Linked DNA regions of Homo sapiens: region 2 is linked to region 1. Evidence: promoter capture Hi-C in 16 types of primary human blood cells and fetal thymus (Javierre and others, 2016). All regions are on one chromosome and are shown on one strand. Each heading gives the region's core, a stretch centred on a gene start or on the middle of the fragment in contact. The rest is flanking DNA. Distances are from core to core; before and after follow the strand shown. Region 1 holds the start of GSG1 (germ cell associated 1). Region 2 has its middle 5.2 kb from the start of GPRC5D-AS1.

What was found. The method cuts DNA at HindIII sites, captures the fragments that hold promoters and counts their contacts. A CHiCAGO score of 5 or more calls a contact.
Region 2: a contact is called between a fragment that was not itself captured here and the fragment with the promoter of GSG1 in region 1, in 2 of 17 cell types (M0 macrophages and naive B cells). The highest score is 6.7, in M0 macrophages.

The regions. Positions count from the first base shown.
Region 1 is chr12:13,100,804-13,107,251 of GRCh38, reverse strand. It overlaps GSG1 (germ cell associated 1), which reads left to right and starts at 3,585. Exons shown (of 7, transcript NM_001080555.4): 1 at 3,585-3,787. The coding sequence starts at 3,740. LOC105369666 (a long non-coding RNA gene) reads right to left here and starts at 5,822. Exons shown (of 2, transcript XR_931369.3): 1 at 5,512-5,822; 2 at 4,806-5,265. RefSeq lists silencers at 5,647-5,696, 5,977-6,206. The HindIII fragment of the contact is 5,406 bases long and covers 1-4,527 here.
Region 2 is chr12:12,919,261-12,925,708 of GRCh38, reverse strand. No RefSeq gene overlaps it. Among named protein-coding and RNA genes, the nearest start is that of GPRC5D-AS1, 5.2 kb to the left of the region's middle. RefSeq lists cis regulatory regions at 3,441, 3,434-3,521, 4,678 and enhancers at 3,369-3,513, 4,606-4,750. The HindIII fragment of the contact is 2,647 bases long and covers 1,417-4,063 here.

The sequences.
Region 1 (6,448 bases), core at 2,336-4,835:
TTCACAATAGCAAACATACAGAATCAACCCAGCTGCCCATCAATGGTGGGTTAGATTCCTAAAATGTGGTACATATACACCCTGGAATACTATTAATACACAGCCATAAACAAGAAGGAAATCATGTCCTTTGCAGCAACATGGATGCAGGTGGAGGCCATTATTCTAAGCAAGTTAATGCAGAAACAGAAAACCAAATACAGCATATTTATAAGTGGGAGCTAAACATTGGGTACACATGGACACAAAAATGGGAACAATAAACACTGGGAATTCTAAAGGGGGTTAGGGAGAGAGGGCAGCAGGTATTGAAAAACTATCTATCGGATGCCATGTTCACTTATGTTCACTACTTGAGTGATGAAATCATTAGCAGCCCAAACCTCAGCATCACACAGTATACTCATGTAACAAGCCTGCACATGTACCCACTGAATCTAAAATAAAATAAATTTTTTACAGTTATAAATAAATAAAAAGAGTTCAGGAGTTGTTTGCAATTCTCCCCCACTCAACTTTACCCAAGACTGACCAGTAGATAGTCAAGCACTGTATTCAAGAGTTCCTTGGATTTGTTCTTTCTTTTGTTTTTTCCCTTTCTGCGTGGTTATAGTATTTATCTGAAATACCACTGAGGTCACTTGTTTCCATTTGCTTTTGGTTTCAGGCTTTTCTTTTCCTTCTCAACTTGTTATAATTTTATTTTCAAACATGTGGAACATTAGCATGCTCCCAAAAGTCAAAACTATATCATAAAAACTTCTCAGAGAAGTGTCACTCCTTCCAGAATCATTTCCATTCCCCACCCCCAGTAAACAACCAACTTTATTGTTTTCTGGTTTATCCTTCCTGAACTTCGTTTGGTAACAATAAGCAGATAGATGTACATTTTGTTTCCCCTCTTTTCTTTTTTACACAAAAGATAGTATACTATATATCCTCTTATGTACTTAGCATTCCATATCAGTTCATAGAAATCTCCCTTGTTTGCTTTGTTTTTTATAGCTGCATAGTACCTCATTGTGTGTATGAACCATAATTAATTCCACCAATTCTTATTTAGGTAGTTTCCATATTTTACAATTACAAATATGTTGTAATGAATAGCTTCATGCCTATTGTTGGAGGTGTATCTTCAGGGTAAATTTCTAGAAGTAGGATTTCTGGGTGATGGGATGCACATGCAGTTGTGTTAGATATTGCCAAATTCACCAAAGGGGTACACCATTTGGGATTCCCACTAGCAATGAGTGAGAGCGTCTGTTCCCCACAGCATCATCAACAGATTGCACTGTCAAACTTTATAATTTTGTCAGTCTGGTGGATGAGAAGTGATATTTCATTCTAGTTTTAAATTGCATTATGTTTACTATATGTGAAGTTGAACATTTTTTCATATATTTAGGGTCATTCATATGTCTCTCTCTCTCTCTCTCTCTTTTTTTTTTTTTTTTCTTTTTTTGAGGCAGTCTTGCGCTGTCACCCAGCATCGCCCAGGCTGGAGTTCAGTGGCAGGATCATGGCTCACTGCAGCCTCAACTTCCCGGGCTCAAGCAATCCTCCCACCTCGGTCTCCCAAGTAGCTGGGACTACAAGCGCTCACAACCTCGCCCAGCTAATTTTTGTACTTTTCGTAGCAATAAGGTTTCACTGTGTTGCCCAGGCTGGTCTTGAACTCCTGGGCTCAAGTTATCCTCCTGCCTCGGCCTCCTGACGTGCTGGGATTAAGCATCCGGCCATAATCTCATTTTTAAAATTCAGATCTCTAGTCCATCTAGAGTTTATTCTTGTATATGATTTTTAAATAAATATAATTTATATTTTTCTAAATGGCTATCTAGTTTATCCCAACAACATTTCTTAAAAAAATCATCTGTGCCCCAGTGATTACAGATATCACCTTTGTCCTATACTGGAAGTCTATACATAGCTGTGTTTATCTCTAGACTTTCTGTTCTCTTCCATTGGCCTGTTTGTCTAGTCATGCACCAGTACCACATTGTTTTTTTTTGGTTTTTTTGTTTTTTTTAATATACTTTAAGTTCTAGCGTACATGTGCACAACGTGCGGGTTTGTTACATATGTATACATGTGCCATGTTGTTTTAATCATAGAGGCTTTGTAGTATGCTTTATATCAATTAGGGCTAGCACCACCTCAGAGCTCTTCCTTTTCAGGGTTTTCCTAGCTAGTCTTGTGTATTTTTTTCCCATATAAACTTTAATATCAACTTGTGTTGGTCTTTTAAAATACTCATGGTTATTTGTATTAAATTTATAAATTAACTTATAACGGACATCTTGATCAATTTAAGATGTGCCAAAAATAAGGCATGTTGTTCCATTGGGGAAGTTATTGGCACTTCGAGATCCGATGTTCTCTCTTAGATACTTCCTTAGGTAGTTTAGGTCATTAAATAAAATAATAAATATTTCTTGAGCAGCTACTATGCCCTTGGCACTATATTAAGCACGATAGAAGTAAAAAACCAGATTCTGTCCTCAAGCAGCTTAGAATTTCACGAGAGAAACAGACTAACACACCAAAAGCAAAGCAGGCATGCTGTATGAGCAAAGAGGAAATGGGGAGTAAGGAGGGCTAGAGCCACAAGGTAGTGAGACTGGAATCATGTGCCCTGAGGTTGTGTAAGATTTAGGCAGGGCAGCAAGGAGAAGGAAGGGATCCCAGTGAGGGGAACCCTGGCAAAAGCTCAGAGGAGGACTGAGTGTGACAGGTTTCACAGGGCAGAGGGCCCCATCCAGACTGTTAGCTGGAATCCTGGATGAGGCCCTCTTCCAGTCTCCGAGAGTTATGCCTCCATATTAACAGTCCCCAAACACTAATTATGTATTCATTAAAATGATGTTAGTGAATGTTTGCTGGGTTTCCAGATACTAGCCCTTTAGAATGGTAATTTCTGTACATTGTTACCTTTTCAGGGAATGGCCTTGAGTTGTGCCATCCAATACAGTAGCTACTTGCCATGTGTGGCTGTGGAGCCCTTATGATATGGATAGTGCAACTGAGCAACTGAATTTCTAATTTTATGTAATTTGAATTCACTAAATTTTAATTTTAAAATGAAAGTAGTATAAAATATTTTTCATTAAACCCAACTTTATTGTGTGGGGAGGGCTACATTTTAAACATAGTATTGTATAACATATGATTGCTGTATCACAGTATGTGTGTCCAATTTACTTTTTTTAATGTGGCTACCAGAAAATTTTAAATGACATATGCTGCCCACATTGCATTTTGCTTTGACAGCACTGGTCTAGAGTCTCACAACTCAGTGTGGTCTGGCTGGACTCACGTGAGAGCCATCCCAGACTCTGCACTTGACTAAGTCAGGATCTGCACTTGACTAAGTTCCCCAGGTGAATCTTATGCACAATAAGATAAGCACTGATCTGGACGACCTCAGAAGACATCCAGCCACTGGTAGGTACCCAGCATGACCCCCCCCAATCCTTATGGGAGGAGGCTGAGGGAGCAACAGGGAGACCCCTGACTGCCGTTGTGACATCACAGAATAAACCCCACGGGTCACCCAACCCCGCCCTGGCTGGTGTCTGGCCCTCAGGACATCCTCTCCAATCCACCACACACCACCTTACCCCTCTGCTGGCAAGAGGGGACCTGATTCATCCTCACGCTAAACACTCATTCTACCCAACTGATTGAGACAGAACAGAAGATAAACTGAAACTTCTCTGCCTTCCCGCTGCAAGAGTGAATGAGCGATCCCTCTCAACTGACTCAAAATGTTTGCCTCACCCAGGAGGTAGGTACAGTGATTTTGAAATCTCATGAACATCTCATACACATATCTTTACTGCTGGATTTGTAACACAGGTTACACTAACTCATCAATTTCATGTATTTCACATGGTCACAGTAAAGAGCTTGGAAATGCACTATAGGGTTCTACAAAATGGAATGAAAATGTGTCACTCAGCCCAGTTTTCATAGATAAAACTGGTATGTCCATACCTTGGCCTATTACCTTTTCATCTTCCTTCATTAAAACTTCCATTTCTTCTTCCCTTGTCTCATCATCTTCCTTCTCCTTTCTGTTCCCAGGGCTCCCTATGCCTCTCCTTTTTTCCTTTCATCTGCATTATTCCCGTTGCCAAAATCTGGAGCCTGGTAAAGGCCCAGTAGCGGTGGCAACAATAGAGCTGTGTGTCACCCCAGTGAGCTGAAAGAGCAGACATCAAGCTCTATGCCAGAGAACAGTGGGGCATCCCCAAGGTCCTGCTGGAAGGCAGCTCTGATCTGGAACTGGGAAGGACAACACACAGTCAAGCTCTTTCTCGTCTCAGAGAATCCAGCAGAATCTTCAGGGATCCTTCCAGACCAGGAAGACTCTCACACTCTGCAGAGAAGTTGCGGCTTGTTTAGCATTTGACCTACATTCAGAAACGACCAGCCTCCCAACTTTCAGCTCTAAGGATTACTTAAAAAAACAAATGGTGTTCATTCTCAGATATCTTGCCTTTCTCAGGAGAGAAAAATGAAGCTTGCAATTAGCCAGCAAACTAGCACATACACAAACACACACACACGTACATACACTCCAACACAGGGAGCAATGTGGTATGTTGTTGACCAGCTGGAAGTTAGGATCTCAAAGGAAAGAACAGGATAACTTAAGAGGCACTTCTGGGACTGCAGAGCTGAGCTGGTGGTTCTGAAGAGCCATCGGAGTGTGGGTTCAGGCAGCTTCCCTAATTCAGAAGCAGCCCCAAGTGAATAGATGACAAAGAAGTGGATGTGAACATGACAGAAAAAGCCAGTCATGGCTTAGAATAAATTTTATTATTGTTCTTTATCAGTGGTTTTCCAGGAGAGACACAGAGGGAATATGGGAGCGTCTGGTTGCTAATATGTACCTGAGAAGTATAAAGTACACTTAATCCATTGCCTCAATCTGCAGGAGGTCCCATAAATCTGGCCTGCAATCTGTACATTTTGTTAAAGGTGACTGTGCCTTGGCTTTTACTGAGTGGCAGCCTGGTGATGAGTCAGGCGAACAGTCCTCAAAGATTGCCAGTGTTGACTTTACCATTTACTAGCTTTGTGGCCTTGAGCAAGTCAAACCCTCCGAATCGGAACCCTCACTTGTAGAATGGGGATGCCACGTCCCTTTCAGGCTGGTTGTGAGGATTAAGGAAGATGTCTGAAGGGTCTAGCAAGGTGTCTGCTGGTAGCACAGGTGCACTTCCCCTTCGTTTCTGCTTAGAGGCACTCTTCTTCTACCTGTTTTCGATTTTCACAGAACTAAGAAGGACAACTCTTTGCCCTCATTTACCCCTGAGGGTAAATTTAACCCTCTGGGAGGTTAAGTAACTTGGCCAAAATCCTCAGTGCAGTCGTGCATTGGGTCGTAAATAGAACTCGGATCTGCTGAGGGGTCTGGGTGGTGAAGTCCCGCCCTGGGGTCTTCCCAATGAGACGCAGACATCCCCTTCCCTTAGAACGGGAGCCTGGGACCCATAGCTTTACCGGGCAGAGGCAGGGAAATGCCTGACTTTGGACTCCAGCAGCTCGACACATCCCGAGCCCTGGCCCACCGGCCTGGGTGTAAGGAATCCCTCCGACTACCCAGTCTCTCCGCCCTCCCGCGCAGCCTCGCCAGGCGGCAGAGGGGACGCGCCTCAGGTGGCCTAGCGCCCCGGCCCAGCTCCGGGACACATGTGGCCCCGCCCTCCGCGGCTCGCCGGGTCCCTGGCCTGCCCTGGCAGTCCCTGCTCTCTGGGAGGGCCCCCGGGACACCGTTCTCAACCGACGGAGGAAGACCCAGAGGAAGAAACAGCCCGGGTACCCCCGCCCGACCCGGTCAGGAAGCCATGGGTGGTTGGCGGCCGCGGGGCGGGGCCTCGCAAACAATGCCAAACACGGCCGGCCTGTCGCCGCGGCAACGCGCCCCGCTGCTAGGCGACCGGGCGCCGTAGTAAACGGGAGAGACGGCGCGTTACTCATCAGGGTGGGAGGGCGCGCTCGGAAGTGGAGATGGCGCGGCCCAGGCACCCCCGAGAGGCCCCACCCGTTACGCCCCCGCCCCGCCCCGCGGTCCCCAAGCGCCCCCGGCCCCAGCCGGCCTGCTGGCGCCGTCACCCGCGCGTGAGCGATTGCCCCACAGGATGTGCAGATGTGGCTGCCCCTCTGATTCACTCCAGCTGCTTGGGGCCTGGAAGAAAGGCGGCTTCCTCTCCTGGAAATGACTGCATTAGCAAAAGTCCTCAAACAATTCCATTAAAAGGCGGAAAGGGAAAGACGAGAACGAGGCCCCGATACGCTTTTCCAGGGTCCTTCCCACTGAATTGAAGTGTTCCCAAAACTCGGGACCTACGTTAGGAAGACTAGAGTCATTTGATTGTGCGACCATTTGAGGTGATGTGGCCCCTTAAACGTGGTTACAGCTGAGAATAAATCCCGGAGC
Region 2 (6,448 bases), core at 1,491-3,990, 180 kb after region 1:
TTTCTCTTTTCTCATATTTAAAGTTTGTTCTTGTGTGGTTCTCCTAGGAAACAGCACTTTCCCAAGCTTGACAAAGAAAAGCCTCAGGGAAATAAATTGGGATGTGATGAAATGTATTCAGCCCAAGAAGTAAAAAATTCCTTTCCTTTCTTCCAAGCCTCGGGCTTGTAAGTTGCTTTTATCACACTGGATTTAAGTGTTCTTATATGGAAACACACACAAAAATCTGATGGTTGATCAGCTGAAATTCATCAAAATTATTTGAAGACAAATTGGCATTCAAGACACCAGAATAGACAAGAGAAGAACCTGAGGGCTGTGTTCTCTGAGTGAAAGGACATCATTCTAATTAGCCTGTGACAAAAGAAAAAAAAATACCCTTCTCCCAAAAAGTTTATTCATTTTACCCATGTGTACAGGCACTGTCCTAGGCTCAGGGAATACTGAGAAAAACAGAACAAATTTCTGTCCTTCTAAAGCCTATATAATAGAGAAAAACACACAAACCAACAAATAAATCTAAATTCGAAATTTCAGTACCCTGAAGACTTACCACTATGGGAGCCCAGCATTAAACTGCCTGCTCTAGCCGGGCACGGTGGCTCACGCCTGTAATCCCAGCACTTTGGGAGGCTGAAGTGAGCAGATCAAGAGTTGGAGATCAGCCTGGCCAACATAGTGAAACCCCGTCTCTACTAAAAATACAAAATTAGCCGGGCATGGTGTACAGCCAAGTAGCTGTAATCCCAGCTACTCGGGAGGCTGAGGCAAGAGAATCTCTTGAACCTGGGAGGTGGAGGTTGCAGTGAGCTGAGATCGCGCCACTGCACTCCAGCCTGGGCAATAGAGAGTTCGTTTCAAAAAATAATAATAAAAAAAATTAAAAACTGCCTGCTTATATCTGGGCCAGCTTGTAGTCCCAGCTACTTGGGAGGCCGAGGAGGGATGACTGCTCGATCCCAGGAGTTCAAGATCAGCCTGGGCAACATAGTGAGAACCCATCTCTACAAAAGATAAAAGGTAAATAAAAATGAAAGATCGTGAAAATCAAGGTCACAGGGATGGATCACTCACCGTGAGTTAGGGACAGTTGGTGACATGCACTGCTTTTCAGCCACACAATCGGCAACCCTGTTTTGCTACTGCCTTGAATGGAAATGTGTTTTATTTGGCATGACAGTGTGCACATACACATACGGTGATAGGAGGCAAGGGCACTGGTTTCATCTCACGTGTAGAAATGACTCTCCATACCTTAGGCTTACGGCCAATTGGTGTATACAGGAGTGGACATGGATGTGGGTGGATGTGTGGGTGTGTCTGTACACACAGCCACCAGCCGGTACCCCACACATACCAGGAATTTCTGAGATTCTCACAGACTACTGAAGAAGATGTCTGGGGAGCATGAAAGCTTCTCCACAGCCAGCCATGGTGACTGACACCTGTAATCTCAGCACTTTGGGAGGCCAAGGCAGAAGGACTGCTTGAGCTTGGGAGTTCAAGACCAGCCTGGGCAACATAGAGAGAGCCCCCCCACCCCCGCCATCTCTATAAAAAATCAAAAAAAGCTAGGTGTGATGGTGCACACCTGTAGTCCAAGTTACTCAGAAGCCTAGGGCAGGTAGATTGCCCAGCCTGGGTGACAGGGCAAGACAAGAAAGAAAAGAAAGAAAAAGAAGAAAGAAAGAAAGAAAGAAAGAAAGAAAGAAAGAAAGAAAGAAAGAAAGAAAGAAAGAAAGAAAGAAAGAAAGAAAAAGAAAGAAGGAAGGAAGGAAGGAAGGAAGGAAGGAAGGAAGGAAGGAAGGAAGGAAAGGAAGGAAGGAAGGAAGGAAGGAAGGAGGGAGGGAAGAAAGAAAAGGAAGGAAGGAAGGAAGGAAGGAAGGAAGGAAGGAAGGAAAGAAAAGAAAAGAAAGAAAGAGAAAGAGAGAAAGAGAGAGAAAGAAAGAGAGAAAGAGAGAAAGAAAGAGAGAAAGAGAGAAAGAAAAGGAAAGAGAAGAGAGGCCGGGCACGGTGGCTCATGCCTGTAATCCCAGCACTTTGGGAGGCCGAGGCGGGCGGATCACAAGGTCAGGAGATTGGGACCAAGCTCGCTAATGCGGTGAAACCCCATCTGTACTAAAAGTACCAAAAGTTAGCCGGGCGTGGTGGCAGGCGCCTGTAGTCCCAGCTACTTGGGAGGCTGAGGCGGGAGAATGGTGTGAACCCAGGAGGCGGAGCTTGCAGTGAGCCCAGATCGCGCCACTGCACTCCAGCCTGGGCAACAAAGCGAGACTCCGTCAAGAAAGAAAAGAAAAGAGAAGAAAAGAAGGAGGGAGGGAGGGAGGGAAGGAAGGAAGGAGGGAGGGAGGGAAGGAGGGAAGGAAGGAAGGAAGGAAACCTCTCCATTATGCAGAATATATAAACAGCCATTTTTCTTTCTAAACTCTAGTTTTCTTTTAAAGTTAAATGCAACACCCATGCATGCAGACTGTAGCCCTGATGATCTGGGAAAAATATACAGGTACCAATTCATCAATTCATTGTTTCTGGCACTGCCGCCAGGTTTGTCAGAGAAAGGAAAGGACAGAGGACTTGGCCAGGGCCTTGGGGGCGGGGAGGGGACGGCCAACATAATCAAAAGAACCATCTCTGAGCATGCCGGGTTCTGTGCATTTAGCAGGCTGCTCCTCCTCACCTTGTCCCCCGTCTTTCATGAAGCCAGGGCGTTCTAGAAACGTAGAGGAAAAACTGGAATGACGTTCTATGATGAGGTCAAACCCATCTGCCCAATTTCACACACAGGTCTGACCCTTTGGGAATTGTAACAATATTTTCCTGAATTCCTGATTCTCTTTTTTTTTTTTTTTTTTTTTTGAGATGGAGTCTTGCTCTGTCACCCAGGCTGGATGGAGTGCAATGGCATGATCTCAGCTCACTGCAACCTCCACCTCCCTGGTTCAAGTGATTCTCCTGCCTGAGCCTCCTGAGTAGCTGGGATTCCAGGCGCATGCCACCACGCCTGGCTAATTTTTTGTATTTTTAATAGAGACAAGGTTTCACCATGTTGGTCAGGTTGGTCTCGAACTCCTGACCTCGTGATCTGCCCGCCTCGGCCTCCCACAGTGCTGGCATTACAGGTACGAGCCACTGCACCCGGCCAAATTCCTGATTCTTAAGTCCTTAATTTTAACTTTAGTGTAACATTCTTTTATCTTCATTACTTTGCCAGGCCTCTGATTTTACAACTCTTCCTCCTACTTATCGGCTCTCACTCCCCATCCCCTCACCCTCACTCTGACGCTTTCTTCCCAAGGAAGCCCTGGCACCCCACCCCTTCCTCTGCCTCCCTCTAATTCAGTACAGTCAGATGCTCCCTTGGGCCCTCATTCTGGCTCCCAAGTATCCAGAGGTCATGGGTTTGTGATTCAGATGACTAAACTCATGCTACCCAAGTACAATGCACAAGCCTTTTTGATTCTGCTGAGTAACACGAATCATGGGGTTCTTTCTTATGCAATTAATCACCCTCAAAGACAACGTGGAGTAGTTTTTTGTTTTTTTGTTTTTTTTTTTTTTTTTTTTTTTTTTTCTTAAAAAGACAGTAGTTTTTGTCTAAAGAACGAAATCAAGCAATAGTTCAGACATTGACTACATGTATCTGGAGTGGGAGAACACAGTGGTGTTTACAAAATTCAAGTGCCTTTGCAAAGGATTTTAGATCATCACCGTGTCCGCAATAAAGTCATATTAACATAGCATGAGCTCTGTTCCCGTGGCAGCTCCCATTCTAAAGCAAGGCTCTGAACAAGGGAGTAGTCCTGCAACACACAGCCCCCTTAATTTTAATCGACACCCAACCATAACACTTACTAAAAGGTGAGGGCCCATCCCAAGAGTGAAGAGCATTTCCATTTTCACCTGAAGGGCAAAGGAAGTGTTTGGGTTGGAGGTATAGGGAAAGAAAACTGTCCAGGAAAACTAACAATCTAAGAACTCTCCATGGCTCTTAGATTCAAATATGAAGAATAACAACTCAGCCAGTGAAAGTCTAAACGCTAAGAGTTACAAGCTGCCTCAAGCTTATCGAAGGCCTTGCTCCAGACAGAATTCCCCACATTGTCCCCAGCAGAGCTGGAGGATGTGTCCTCACCTTTTAATAAGTGTTATTATTGGATGTCATTGGTAGTTGTGTGTTACAAGACAATTCTCTGCTTCATAACTTTGCTTTAGAATGCAAGTTGCCTTAGGAATGGAGCGCATGCTATTTGAATAGCATTGAACTGATTAGTTCATTGAGCTTAAACATCACCAGCCAAGAGAGGACCCGCTATTTTGCAGGAAGCTCTTCTGGAATCTGCTTGCCTAAAATTTCTAACCACAGAGCCACCTGTTAGGCAATCGTTATTAAAGACGGTTGGGAGGCAGCAGGGAGTTATGGATAAGAAATCTGGAGGCACCCCACCCCACCCTGGCTCCCAGTCAATCACTTGACAGCTGTGTTGCCTTCGGTGTTACCTAGCCCCTGGGTGCTTCAGTGTCTGCAGGTGTTAAATAAAAAAGGGATAACAATAGTAATAACCCCAGCCAGGCGCGGTGGCTCACGCCTGTAATCCCAGCACTTTGGGAGGCCGGGGTGGGCGGATCACCTGAGGTCAGGAGTTCGAGACCAGCCTGACCAATACGGAAAAAACCCCGTCTCTACTAAAAATACAAAATTAGCCAGGCGTGGTGGCGCATGCCTGTAATCCCAGCTACTCGGGAGGCTGAGGTAGGAGAATTGCTTGAACCTGGGAGGCGGAGGTTGCGGTGAGCCGAGATCACGCCATTGCACTCCAGCCTGGGCAACAAGAGCTAAACTCCATCTCAAAAAAAAAAAGTAATAACGCATGAGGTTTTTATACATATTAAATTATATTATACATCTAAAGTGCTTAGGCCGGGCACAGTGGCTCACGCCTGTAATCCCAGCACTTTAGGAGGCCGAGGCGGGCGGATCACCTGAGGTCAGGAGTTCGAGACCAGCCTGGCCAATATGGTAAAACCCCGTCTCTACTAAAATACAAGAATTAGCCAGGCATGGTGGCGGGCACCCGTAATCCCAGCTACTCAAGAGGCTGAGGCAGGAGAATTGCTTGAACCCGAGAGGCAGAGGTTGCAGTGAGCCAAGATCGCGACACTGCACTCCAGCCTGAGTGACAAGAGCGAAACTCCATCTCAAAAATAAATAAATAAACAAACAAACAAATAAATAAAGCACTTCAAACAGAGCCTGGCACGGAGTAAGCGCACAGTAAATGTTAGTGATGGTGATGATCATGCCCCTGCAACATCTCCTCCTCTCCGGATTAACTAGCTCCAGTCCCATCAGCCATTCTGCAGGTCATGAAATTCCAAAAATAGCTTCTCTGTTAGAAGCTCCTCCTCCATTAGAGTGAGCTGCAAAGATGTGGATTTTATGCTGTGATGTGGTACCTCAGGGGAACAGCACATGCCTTGACTTGGACTTCACAAATGTGTCAGTGCTGCCTACGATTGCTTTGACTTTCTGGCTGTTGTCTCATCACTGGTCCTTCTCAGTTTTCTAGACACCTCAAACTACCAAGTCTTTTTCATAAAAACTACTGTCAAACCAAGTCTTTCCAATTTGTATTTATGTAATTTACTTTGACAGCACAAATACATTTACATCTATTAAAGTAAATTCTTGTCTTGGGATCTTCATTCCAGCTTATTGCAACATATTTGTATTCTGGTTTTATTATTCAGTCTTTCCTAATTTTGTGTCATGTGCAAAACTTGATAAATGTGCTTTATCTTTATCCAAGTGATTGATGAAAACGTTATCCAAACAGATGCAAAGACAGAGCCCTGTGGCACATCACTAGAGACTTCCATCTAGTAAAGGATCTCTTCTTGAATGTTTCAGTTATGACTCCATCTAACTCTATTATCATGATCTCTGCTTTTTTCCATTGTTCATAAGATATCATGCTGGTCAGGCGCAGTGGCTTATGCCTGTAATCCCAGCACTTTGGGAGGCCAAGGCAGGCGGATCACCTGAGGTCAGGAGTTCGAGACCAGCCTGACCAATATGGAAAAAAACCCCGTCTCTACTAGAAATACAGAATTAGCCGGGCGTGGTGGCGCATGCCTGTAATCCCAGCTCCTCGGGAGGCTGAGGCAGGAGAATCGCTTGAACCCAGGAGGCAGAGGTTGCGGTAAGCCGAGATCGCACCAGTGCACTCCAGCCTGGGAAACAAGGGCGAAACTCCATCTCAAAAAAAAAAAGAAAAAGAAAAGAAATCATGCTAAAAATTGGCACGTGCTTTTTCTCTTTCAATTCCTGGTGGGGGAAAAAAAAAAGTTGGCCTGGAAGCATTTCTTCTTAGAAAGAGAAAGGTGGTAGTCAGGAAACATGGTGCTAGCCCCTACAATCACGTCCCAGAGCTCACAGCATGGCTACATG